3 separate regions of the Homo sapiens genome follow, and all the other regions are linked to region 1. The links are contacts of gene promoters, found by promoter capture Hi-C in human tissues and cell types (Jung and others, 2019). All regions are on one chromosome and are shown on one strand. Each heading gives the region's core, a stretch centred on a gene start or on the middle of the fragment in contact. The rest is flanking DNA. Distances are from core to core; before and after follow the strand shown. Region 1 holds the start of TACO1 (translational activator of cytochrome c oxidase I). Region 2 overlaps TANC2 (tetratricopeptide repeat, ankyrin repeat and coiled-coil containing 2). Region 3 overlaps TANC2 (tetratricopeptide repeat, ankyrin repeat and coiled-coil containing 2).

The links. The method cuts DNA at HindIII sites, captures the fragments that hold promoters and counts their contacts. A contact is called where the count stands out against the background at its distance.
Region 2: a contact is called between a fragment that was not itself captured here and the fragment with the promoter of TACO1 in region 1, in 2 of the 25 tissues and cell types used here (dorsolateral prefrontal cortex and hippocampus).
Region 3: a fragment that was not itself captured here is called in contact with the fragment with the promoter of TACO1 in region 1 in 1 of the 25 tissues and cell types used here (hippocampus).

What each region holds. Positions count from the first base shown.
Region 1 is chr17:63,599,337-63,602,647 of GRCh38, forward strand. It overlaps TACO1 (translational activator of cytochrome c oxidase I), which reads left to right and starts at 1,559. Exons shown (of 5, transcript NM_016360.4): 1 at 1,559-2,027. The coding sequence starts at 1,748. The HindIII fragment of the contact is 17,557 bases long and covers 1-3,311 here.
Region 2 is chr17:63,106,126-63,109,436 of GRCh38, forward strand. All of the region lies in intron 4 of TANC2 (tetratricopeptide repeat, ankyrin repeat and coiled-coil containing 2), which reads left to right. Among named protein-coding and RNA genes, the nearest start is that of TANC2, 140 kb to the left of the region's middle. The HindIII fragment of the contact is 4,415 bases long and covers 1-3,311 here.
Region 3 is chr17:63,190,141-63,193,451 of GRCh38, forward strand. The region is part of intron 5 of TANC2 (tetratricopeptide repeat, ankyrin repeat and coiled-coil containing 2); the gene reads left to right. Among named protein-coding and RNA genes, the nearest start is that of TANC2, 230 kb to the left of the region's middle. The HindIII fragment of the contact is 6,153 bases long and covers 1-3,311 here.

The DNA.
Region 1 (3,311 bases), core at 309-2,808:
AAAATGAGAACTGTGTTGGGCATAGGAAGTACAGTCCTACTCTCAGAGAATTTAGTATTACGGTAGAAACAGATATAAACATTTTGATATTTTTTTAAAAGGTAAGTGCTAAGGTGCAAGCATGTATGAAGGGCTATGGGCACCCACCGCACCTGGCTAATTTTTGTATTTTTAGTAGAGACGGGGTTTCACCATGTTGACCAGGCTGGTCTTGAACTCCTGACCTCAAGTGATCTGCCAGCCTCGGCCTCCCAAAGTGCTAGGATTACAGGCGTGAGCCACCGCACCCAGCCCCATGGAGGTTCTTATATAATAAAAAATAAAAAATCTATGCTTTTGTGCTTTGCATCCATTATCCCATTTAGTCCTCACAAGGCCATTCTATGGTAAGGAAACTGAAACAGGAAAGTAAAGGAACTTGCCCAAGGATACACTAGAAAATGGAACAACCAGGGTTTGAAGCCACCCAGTCTAACTGCAGAGGGCACAAACTTGGACTTCACACTGTCCTGCTTCTCTCTCTCTCTCTCTCTCTTTTTTTTTTTTTTTTTTGAGTTGGATTCTCGCTCTGTCGCACAGGCTGGAGTGCAGTGGCGCGATCTCGGCTCACTGCAACCTCCTCTTCCCGGGTTCAAGCGATTCTCCTGCCTCATCCTTCTGAGTAGCTGGCATTACAGGCGCGCGCCACCACGGCCGGCTAATTTTTTTGTATTTTTAGTAGAGACGGGGTTTCACCATGTTGGTCAGACTGGTCTGGCACTCCTGACCTAGCGATCCGTCTGCCTCAGCCTCCCAAAGTGCTGGGATTACAGGCGTGAGCCACCGCGCCCGGCTGTCCTGCTTCTCTACCTGATATGTCATGCCCTTTGGACTTAATCTCACCAGCATGGGAGTCACTACAAAGCTTTTCAGCAGCTGCCGCTTTGTTTCTCTCCATCTTCTAACGGATTCGGTTTTCTCTTTCGAGACAGCAGAGAGAAAATGAAGAGGGGAGTTTAGCTCCAAAGGGCTTGTCTGATCATTCTCCCTCTCCCAAAGGCCTGTGACTCATCTGAGTCTGTCCCAAACCATCTCTTGCATCTAGGGGCTTAAGTGCACTGTGGCTATTTACATAAAACTTTATTACTTTAAAGCTCTAAGGGCTCATTTTGTGTTTCTAACTTTCCTATGTTGATAAAGCAAATATTAGATCCTTATTTATAAATAGGGAAGACGTTCAGAGAGATTAAACATTTGGGCAATTCACTTCTCTGGCAGCAGTTTCTTTCCCAGTACAATGAGGCAACAACAAAATATCATTCTGGACTTGCTCAGATTTAGGCAGCAATTTGGAAGCAAAGTCAGTTTCATAACTCAGATGTGTCTCCACTAAAACATTATGAGAAACAAAGTCCGGCGCTCTCTAGGCAACCGTGAGGGCTTGAGCACTAACTAGATCTGCTCAAGGGCAAGAGAGGAGCGAGTACCGTGCAGCCACGGAACGGACTTTGCGGGCAGTGGGGACGTGTTTTTGGAGCGAACCCGGTAAAGGAAGTGTGCTACGCCATCAAGGGCCCCCAGTCCCGGGTGCCGCGGGGACAGTGTAGGGTCATTAGCTGTTGAGCCGCCCCGGGCGGGCCCAAGCCTTTGGATCTCAGGTGACCGGCACAGGCGGCCGCGGGGTCCGGAACTGCTTGTTCCGGCAGTGGAAGAGACGCGCCGGCGTTGGCCGCTGCTGCTAGCAGCTTGAACCCCAGGGTCGGGACCGATGTCGGCTTGGGCTGCTGCCAGCCTAAGCAGGGCCGCTGCCCGATGCTTGCTGGCACGAGGCCCCGGGGTCAGGGCGGCTCCTCCGCGCGACCCCCGGCCCTCCCACCCCGAGCCCCGGGGCTGCGGTGCCGCTCCGGGCAGGACGCTGCACTTTACCGCGGCTGTCCCCGCCGGGCACAACAAGTGGTCCAAAGTCAGGCACATCAAGGGTCCGAAGGACGTCGAAAGGAGTCGCATCTTCTCCAAACTCTGTTTGAACATCCGCCTGGCAGTGAAAGGTGAGACCCTGACGGTCACCCAGCACTGGCTGCCGCTGCCCTCTCAGTGCCCGCAGCCTCGCTTGCCTCTCGGAATTGGGCCCACCTAGATCTCCGGCCCTTCACTTTGTTTTCCTTCCCCAGTACCCACCATTGCCCACCTCATAAATCCTCAAAACACCTACCCTACGTTGGAGGTTCTCACTCACTTTTCCAGACGCTGAGCATCTGGCCAGTTTGTCAGAGAGGGAGCTGCTCTTAAGAAGATAAGCCGGTAAGGTAGAAGTGACTTCATCCTAATCTAGCTGGGTACTTAATAGAAACAAGCCCTAAGAGTCAGGGCAGATGTGTGTCTCTCCTGAAGAGACAAATCAACCCCTCTGAAGTCGCCTCAAGTACCTTATTGGTTGTGGCAGGGGCACTGAGTAAAGCTATTACTTAAGTGCTTAGGCCTTAGCTTAGGCCTTAGTTTGCTTCATTAATGTTTCCCCAAGACACATTTCCTTGGAAGGTAGATTTGCAGCCATGTCTTTTCTCCCTTAGGTCGCCACACTGAAAAGGCTTTTTTTCTGTTTAGGGCCAGACATCTGTAGGAGCAAAGGAAAAGTCCTGTAGAAAGCATGGACTTTGGACTGGGCGCAGTGGCACAGCCTGTAATCCCAGGCCAGAGGCAGGCAGATCACTTGAGGTCAGGAGTTCAGGACTAGCCTGGCCAACATGGGGAAACCCTGTGTCTACTAAAAATAACAAAAAAAAAAAAAAAAAAAAACAGCTGGGCATGGTGGTGCATGCCTGTAATGCTGGCTACTCGGGAGGCTGAAGCAGGAGAATTGCTTGAACCCAGGAGTTGAAGGCTGCAGTAAGCGAGATTGCTCTACTGTACTCCATCCAGCCTGGGTGACAGAGCAAGACTCCATCTCAAAAAAAAAAAAAAAAAAAGAGAGAGAAACTGTGGACTTTGGAGTCAGGAAGACTGGTTTCTGTCACTGACTAACCTTGAACAAGTAGCTTAACTTGAGTTTCTCTGAAACAAGGATAATACCCACCTTGAGGTAGTTTATGGTTTATGGCACATCATAGGCATTCAGTTAATGTTAATTTACCCCCTCAGCTCATGCCTGGTATTTGTTTGCTTCCTTTTCTTCAAAATTCTTGATATTAAGTTCAAGCAACTTTTATTTATTTATTTATTTATTTATTTTGAGACAGAGTCTCACTCTGTCACCCAGGGTAGAGTGCAGTGGCGTGATCTTGGCCCATTGCAACCTCCACCTCCCAGGCTCAAGTGATTCTCCTGCTTTAGCC
Region 2 (3,311 bases), core at 324-2,823, 490 kb before region 1:
GGATTGGAAAAAAGGGGGGGCCCTTATTTCCTTGAAGAGGTTATTTCTGTAGTCTTCCAAATCAAAAGTAGAGAATGTTAGAGGGTTATTACTTAATTCAATATAATAATTTCAATTATCATGAGTCAGTATTGTTAAAGAAAACCAGAGCTCGACAGTAAAGTGGTAAAAACAGATTTTAGTAAGGCTCTATTGCAATAGTATAGAACTGGGCTCAATTCTGAATATAGTAAAGAATGTTGGGGATTTATAGCTAAGGAGCAGAGTGGGGCAGAGGATAGAATCAGTGGATGGAAAATTATTAAGAGGAAGCTTCAAGAGTAAGGGGATTATTGCCGAACCAACTAAACAGTGCCTTGCTGAAGGCAAGCCATGTTGACCAGATTATCAAGGGTAGGGGGATTCTCACTAAACTGAGTTAGCAGGATTCTTGCTACAACTGGGCCAGGAGGCGTGAGGACAAGGCCCACGCAAGAACGTTGAAAAGAGGTATCAGAGGAACCTGACTAAAGTTTGGTTAAGGGGTGAGCCTTTGCCACTGCGTATATGTTGAACACCTAAAAGGCGGCATGAATTATCAAACAAATAATCCTTTTGTGATATTTGCACACACTGGATTTCAAAATAATTAAACCTTCTCTTTTTATATTTAACCTGTGAGGTTTTAGACAAGAAAGTAATTTTCTAGTTTTTTTTCTTTTCATATTTGAATGGAAGTCACTCATACAAAGTGAAAGTTTTATTTATAGTATTGTAGTGTTTATTTATAAAAGGATTATTTGTAGTAAGTGTAGTATTACTGTATGTATTCTTTTGAAATATAGTAGCCTTGTCTTCCTACCTCTATTCAGCCACCACTAGGGAAAGTTTGCGAAAGTGCCCAAATGACCCTTAATGAAGAGAGAGCCAAAATAACAAGTCATTGATACTTTTAAGATGAAGTGGTTTCATTTCTGTCAGGTTAGATGATTTGCAAGGTTATGATGAAAATTGGAATGGAAGAAAAACAATAAGAAAAATATTTTTAAAAGTCAAATAAGATAAAATAAGTTGCTTGTCACAAGAAAGTGATTTCAGTTTCCCTTATAAAGACAAAGTTATCAGAATGTATAAAAAGCATTTCCAGGGAGTGTTATTTATAATAGATGCTTCTAAACAAATTGAGAGGAAGCTTACAAATAAAGGAATGAAAAATATATACCAAATAAATGTTGAGAAAAGGATAGTATTATTTGCAATAATATTAAACACAAATAAAAAAGTTTTATTTGATATTTTATGCAGATACAATTCATGAAGTAGATGTTAACGATTATTGCTTTTTTATGCATGAGACAACATGGCATCAAAATGTATAAAGTTATCCAAGAGAAAAGAAAACATATGTTCACACCAAAACTTGTACATGTATGTTCATAGCAGCATTATTCATAATAGCCAAAGAGTGAAAACAGTTTGATGTTCATCAGCTGATGAGTGGATAAATAAAAAGTGATATATTCGTATTATTTGGCATTAAAAATAAATGCTTTCATGATCCATGGTGAACCTTGAAAACGTTACACTAAGTGAAGGAAACCAGTCACAAAAGAACATATGTTATACAATTGCAGTTATATGAAATGTCCAGAATAGGCAAGTAATCTATAGAGACAGAATGTTAATTGGTGGTTACCTAAGGGAAAGGGGTCACCAACGATGGTATAGGTAGTGAATGCTTAAGGGTATAGGGTTTCATTTTGGGGTGATGAAAATGTTCTAAACTTAGATTATGCTGACAATTGTACAACTCTGTGAATGAACTAAATCCATTAAATTGTACTTATATCTCAATAAGGAAGTTTTTTAAAAATAAAAACTTCATATAGTAAACATTAGCAATGAAAGGGAAAGTTGATGAATTTATATTTAACCCATTTATGCCAGAGGCTACAAATTTTTTCATGTCAAAAATCAGACCTTGGCCATGACCTTGAGCAGTAGGATATAAATAACTCCCACAAGCTTAGCGTTCCAATAGTGGAACACTAGGCATAAATGAGTTAAGGCAGATTTCATGCCTCATAAAATGAACAGCTCATTAAAGGATATGGATAATTTGAATAATAAGCAATTAAACTTAACTCATTATATTTCAGAATTGCTAAAATACTTGGAATGTTCTAAACAAAAAGAAATAAGTGTTTGAGGTGATGGATATCTCAGTTACCCTGATTTGATCATTACATATTATATGCCTGTATCCAGATATTACATATACCCCATAAATATGTAAAGTTAATATGTGTCAAGTTTTTAAAAGCTTAATTCAGCCGAGTGTAGAACCTCATACTGAAAAACATAAGATTTCTTATACTTGTATTGTTTTCCAGCACTTGTGAACTGTTTATAAAAGTTGATTATAGGCCAGACGTTGTGGCTCACGCCTGTAATCCCAGCACTTCGGGAGGCCGAGGCGGGCAGATCAGAGGCCAAGAGATCGAGACCATCCTGGCCAACATGGTGAAACTCCATCTCTACTAAAAATACAAAAATCAGCTGGGTGTGGTGTCATGTGCCTGTAGTCCCAGCTCCTTGGGAGGCTGAGGCAGGAGAATCCCTTGAACCCGTGAGGCAGAGGTTGCAGTGAGCCAAGATCATGCGGCTGCACTCCAGCCTGGTGACAGAGCAAGACTCCATCTCAAAAAAAATATAAATAAATAAATAAAAATAAAAAATTTTAAAAAGTTGATTATATAGTTGGCCATAAAGAAATCTCTGTACAATGCACATATTTTTCATTGAAAATCAAAATAGAATCTAACAACAAAGAAGATAGGGAGAAATTTCTTTTCTACTTCTAAAATTTTAAAGTTTTAAAATAACTTTTTAAAATAACTTTTGGGTTAAAACAGAAACCAAAATTGAAAAAAAAGTTGGAAATTAACATGTATTATGTATTAAAACTTATGAAATGTAGCCAAAGTGGTACTCTATGGAAAAGTCATTACCTTGAATACTTTTATTAGAAAACAAGAAGTACTGAAAATAAATGAACTAATAAGGAGATCGAGGAAGACATAGTAAACATGAAGTAATCAATAAAGTTAAAAGGGAAAATGAATAAGCAAAAAACTAGTACTTGATCAGTAAAGCCAGTTTCCTTGAAAAGACTAAGATAATAGAGCAATCTTTGATAGAAGTGATCAAAATGAAAAAGAGGGAGTGAGAAAAGATAACATACAGAACATACAGAACAAGAAATTAGTCACTAATCTTTTTATTATAAGGGAATACAGCATATAGCTTTATAGCAAAACAATACACACAAA
Region 3 (3,311 bases), core at 508-3,007, 410 kb before region 1:
CCTGGGCAACATAATGAGGCACCATCTCTACAAAAAAATTTTTAAAAAAATTATCCAGGCATGGCAGTGCATACCTGTAGCCCTAGCTACTCAGGAGGCTGAGGCAAGAGGATTGCTTGAGCCCAGGAGGTCGAGGCTGCAGTGAGCCATGGTTGTACCACTGCATTCCAGCCTGGGCAACAGAGCGAGACCCTGTCCTAGAAAAGAAAAAAAAAGATCAATTGACCATAATGTAAGAGTATTATTTCTGGACTCTTTATTTCATTGGTCTATTCTGATGCCAGTACCATACTGCCTTGATTAATGTTGCGTTGTAATAAATTTTGAAAATAGGAAATGTGAGTCTTCCAACTCTGTTCTTCTTTTTAAAGGTTGTTTTTTAATTTTGGGCCCCTTATATTTCCATATAATTTTTATGATCAGCTGGTCAATTTCTGCAAAAATAAGGGAAGAAGGAAAGGAAGCGAGTAAGCAAGCAGCTGGAATTTTGATAAGGATTGCATTAAATTGGTAGATTGATTTGGGGAGTATTGATATCATAACAAAATTGTCTTCCAAACCATGAACATGGAAAACCATAATGCACCCTCCCCCCTGCAAAAAAAGAAGATTTGATACACACAATATGGATGAAACTCATTCTAAAATACACATTGCCTCCAAAGACCAGACAATCTTTAAAGTATGTCAAAGAATTTTCTTAAATTTTTTTAAATCACTTTCTCTGTTCTTAAAAATTAAGAACCCAATAACCCTGATAATTTAGCACTGATTTCTCTCTCTTAAGCTACCACTATTTCCATTAAATCCTCCCTTTTAGTGATCTTCAAATGGCCCTATTGTTAATTGTAATGAGGGGGAAAAAGGCTATCTTTATTCCACTGGCCAGACTTTTTTCTCCTGGTAAATTTTCATTTTGCAGGCAGAGAGGTTTTATCGTAGCAGTTACTTGCAAGTGGGAAGTAGAAATGAAACAAAAAGGGAAGAAAAATGGTAGTATTTAAGGAAGAATGCAGAATCAACGTACACTAAGTAGGAAAAAAATGAAAATGCGTGACCTGGTGACATTTTAAGCATATTTTAAATGAAATGGTTTGGAGGGGAGGACCTGGCTTTGTGTTTCAACATACAGTATTTGAATACACTATTATGTTGGTGCAAAAGTAATTGTGGTTTTTGCCATTACCTTTAATGGTGCCATAATGGCAAAAACCTCAATTACTTTTGCACCAAACTAATAAATTCCTGCAAGTGAGAAGCTGTTCATCTGGTCCTACAGAGCAACTTCAAAATATATTTCAGATATTCCCACCTTTTAAAAAAATATATTATTTATTTTTCAGACAGGATCTTGCTCTGTTGCCCAGGCTGGAGTGCAGTGACATGATCATGGCTAACTGCTACCTCGGCCTCCTGGGTTCAAGCAGTTCTCCTGCCTCAGTCTCCTAAGTAGCTGGGACCACAGGCGCGCGCCACCACACCCAGCCAATTTTTGTATTTTTTGCAGAGACGGGGTTTCACCACGTTGCCCAGGCTGGTCTTGAACTCCTGGGCTCAAGTGATCAACCTGCCTCGGCATCCCAAAGTGCTGGGATTTCAAGCATGAGCCACCGCGCCTGGCCCCACCCTTGTTTGTTTTCAGAAGTAACTATTTTTAATTTATTTTAAAATAGGAAATGAAAGTGGAATAGGGAAGAGGTTACTGACAGTTAAGTCTGTAATCTAGAAACCAGAAAGGAAGTGCCTCTACTGTTTCTACTTTATTCCACCAGAAATCCTGGCATACTTTCAGGAAGAGGAGACAGAGGCAGCCGTTGATAATCTAAGACTTAAGATGGAGGGATTCGCAATTAGGTCCCTGTCTGTTATTTGAGAAGCCCCCACTAATTCATCTACTAGGCCTTTCATAATGTGTAAAATTTTACTCAAGATCAACAAATAAGAAAAGTTCAAAACAAATGTAATTGCCAAAGATAGTTTTTTCGTATCATAACCTGGTATCGGATTTCTTTCGTTATAGAGTGCACGACAGATAATATATTAATGTCATCCTCAAATGATATTTTGAGACGAGGTAAGTAAATAGGAAAGAAAAAGTAGATTTAGCAAGGTTTAAAAAATACCAGTCAAACCAGATGAAAAGGACCTGGTGTGGTAGCAGTATCTAATATAGCCACTCACAGAAGAATTCTTGAACTTCTTTCTGCATTAGTACTTGGAAGTACTGAAAGTAGTAATGTAGAAAGGGTTGCAGTTATCTGTCTCTTAAGAACCTCCATTCGATTACCTTACTTAGTGTTTACAACATGCTTTGTTAAGATTATTGAGATTAACATGCTATGAGCAATATGCCTATTATTACAAGTTATCTCTTATTCAGACATTCTCACCATTTGTAATATTTCTTTCCAGTGAGGAAGACACTGTGTTGTGCTCATTGGGAGCATAGATTCTGGAGTCAGGGAGCTCAAGTTCTAATCCTGGCTCTGCCATTTACTGGTTTTATTACTTTGAGCAAATAATTTAATGTATCTGTGCCTCTATTTTCTCATCTGTAAAATGAGGGTAATAATTTCTACCTTAGAAAGTGGAATCTAAAGTTATGAAGGTTAAGCTAATATATGTAAAGTGTTTACACTAGTGACTTGTACATCATAAGCATTATGTAAGTATATGCTAAATAAATATATACTCTTATTTTCCATATAGATTATAAACTTTTCAAAGTCAATGACTATATCTCCGTGTTGTATAAATTCTCGTATCTGTTGTTAACCATGTACATAGGAAACACTTATTATCAGAGTAACTTTGTAGGAGACAGTGAAATAGAGCCCCAGAATATCTAGAGGTCTGGAATCTACAATGAGAAAAATTTGCAAAAGATTAGTTAGTTTAACCTTTAGGAGGGAGGAAAGTGTTACTCATTAATTTGAAGAGACCAGTTTTGCCTTTTCATTTTATCAAGGAATAAGAAGCTTTCAATTGTTCTTGAGAAAAAAATAAGTTATCTAAATGTTTATAACATAAAAATAACCCTACTGATTCTCTTATTTCTGTTCTGTGGCAAAGAAATCTATTTATGTTGCCTCTGGGAGGATAATAGGAGAGGAAAAATAGAGCCTTGTTTTTCTACCTTGACATACATTCAGTGAGAGTTTTGTAGAGATTTTTCACAGATGGAACTTGAGTTCAGTACTAATACACAAAAATACACATATACCCTATCTCTGACCCCCAGCTTGTGACTTTATTAGAGAAGTTGATATAAATGTTAAATGGAATAATAACAATGCAGATCTTACCTTCTT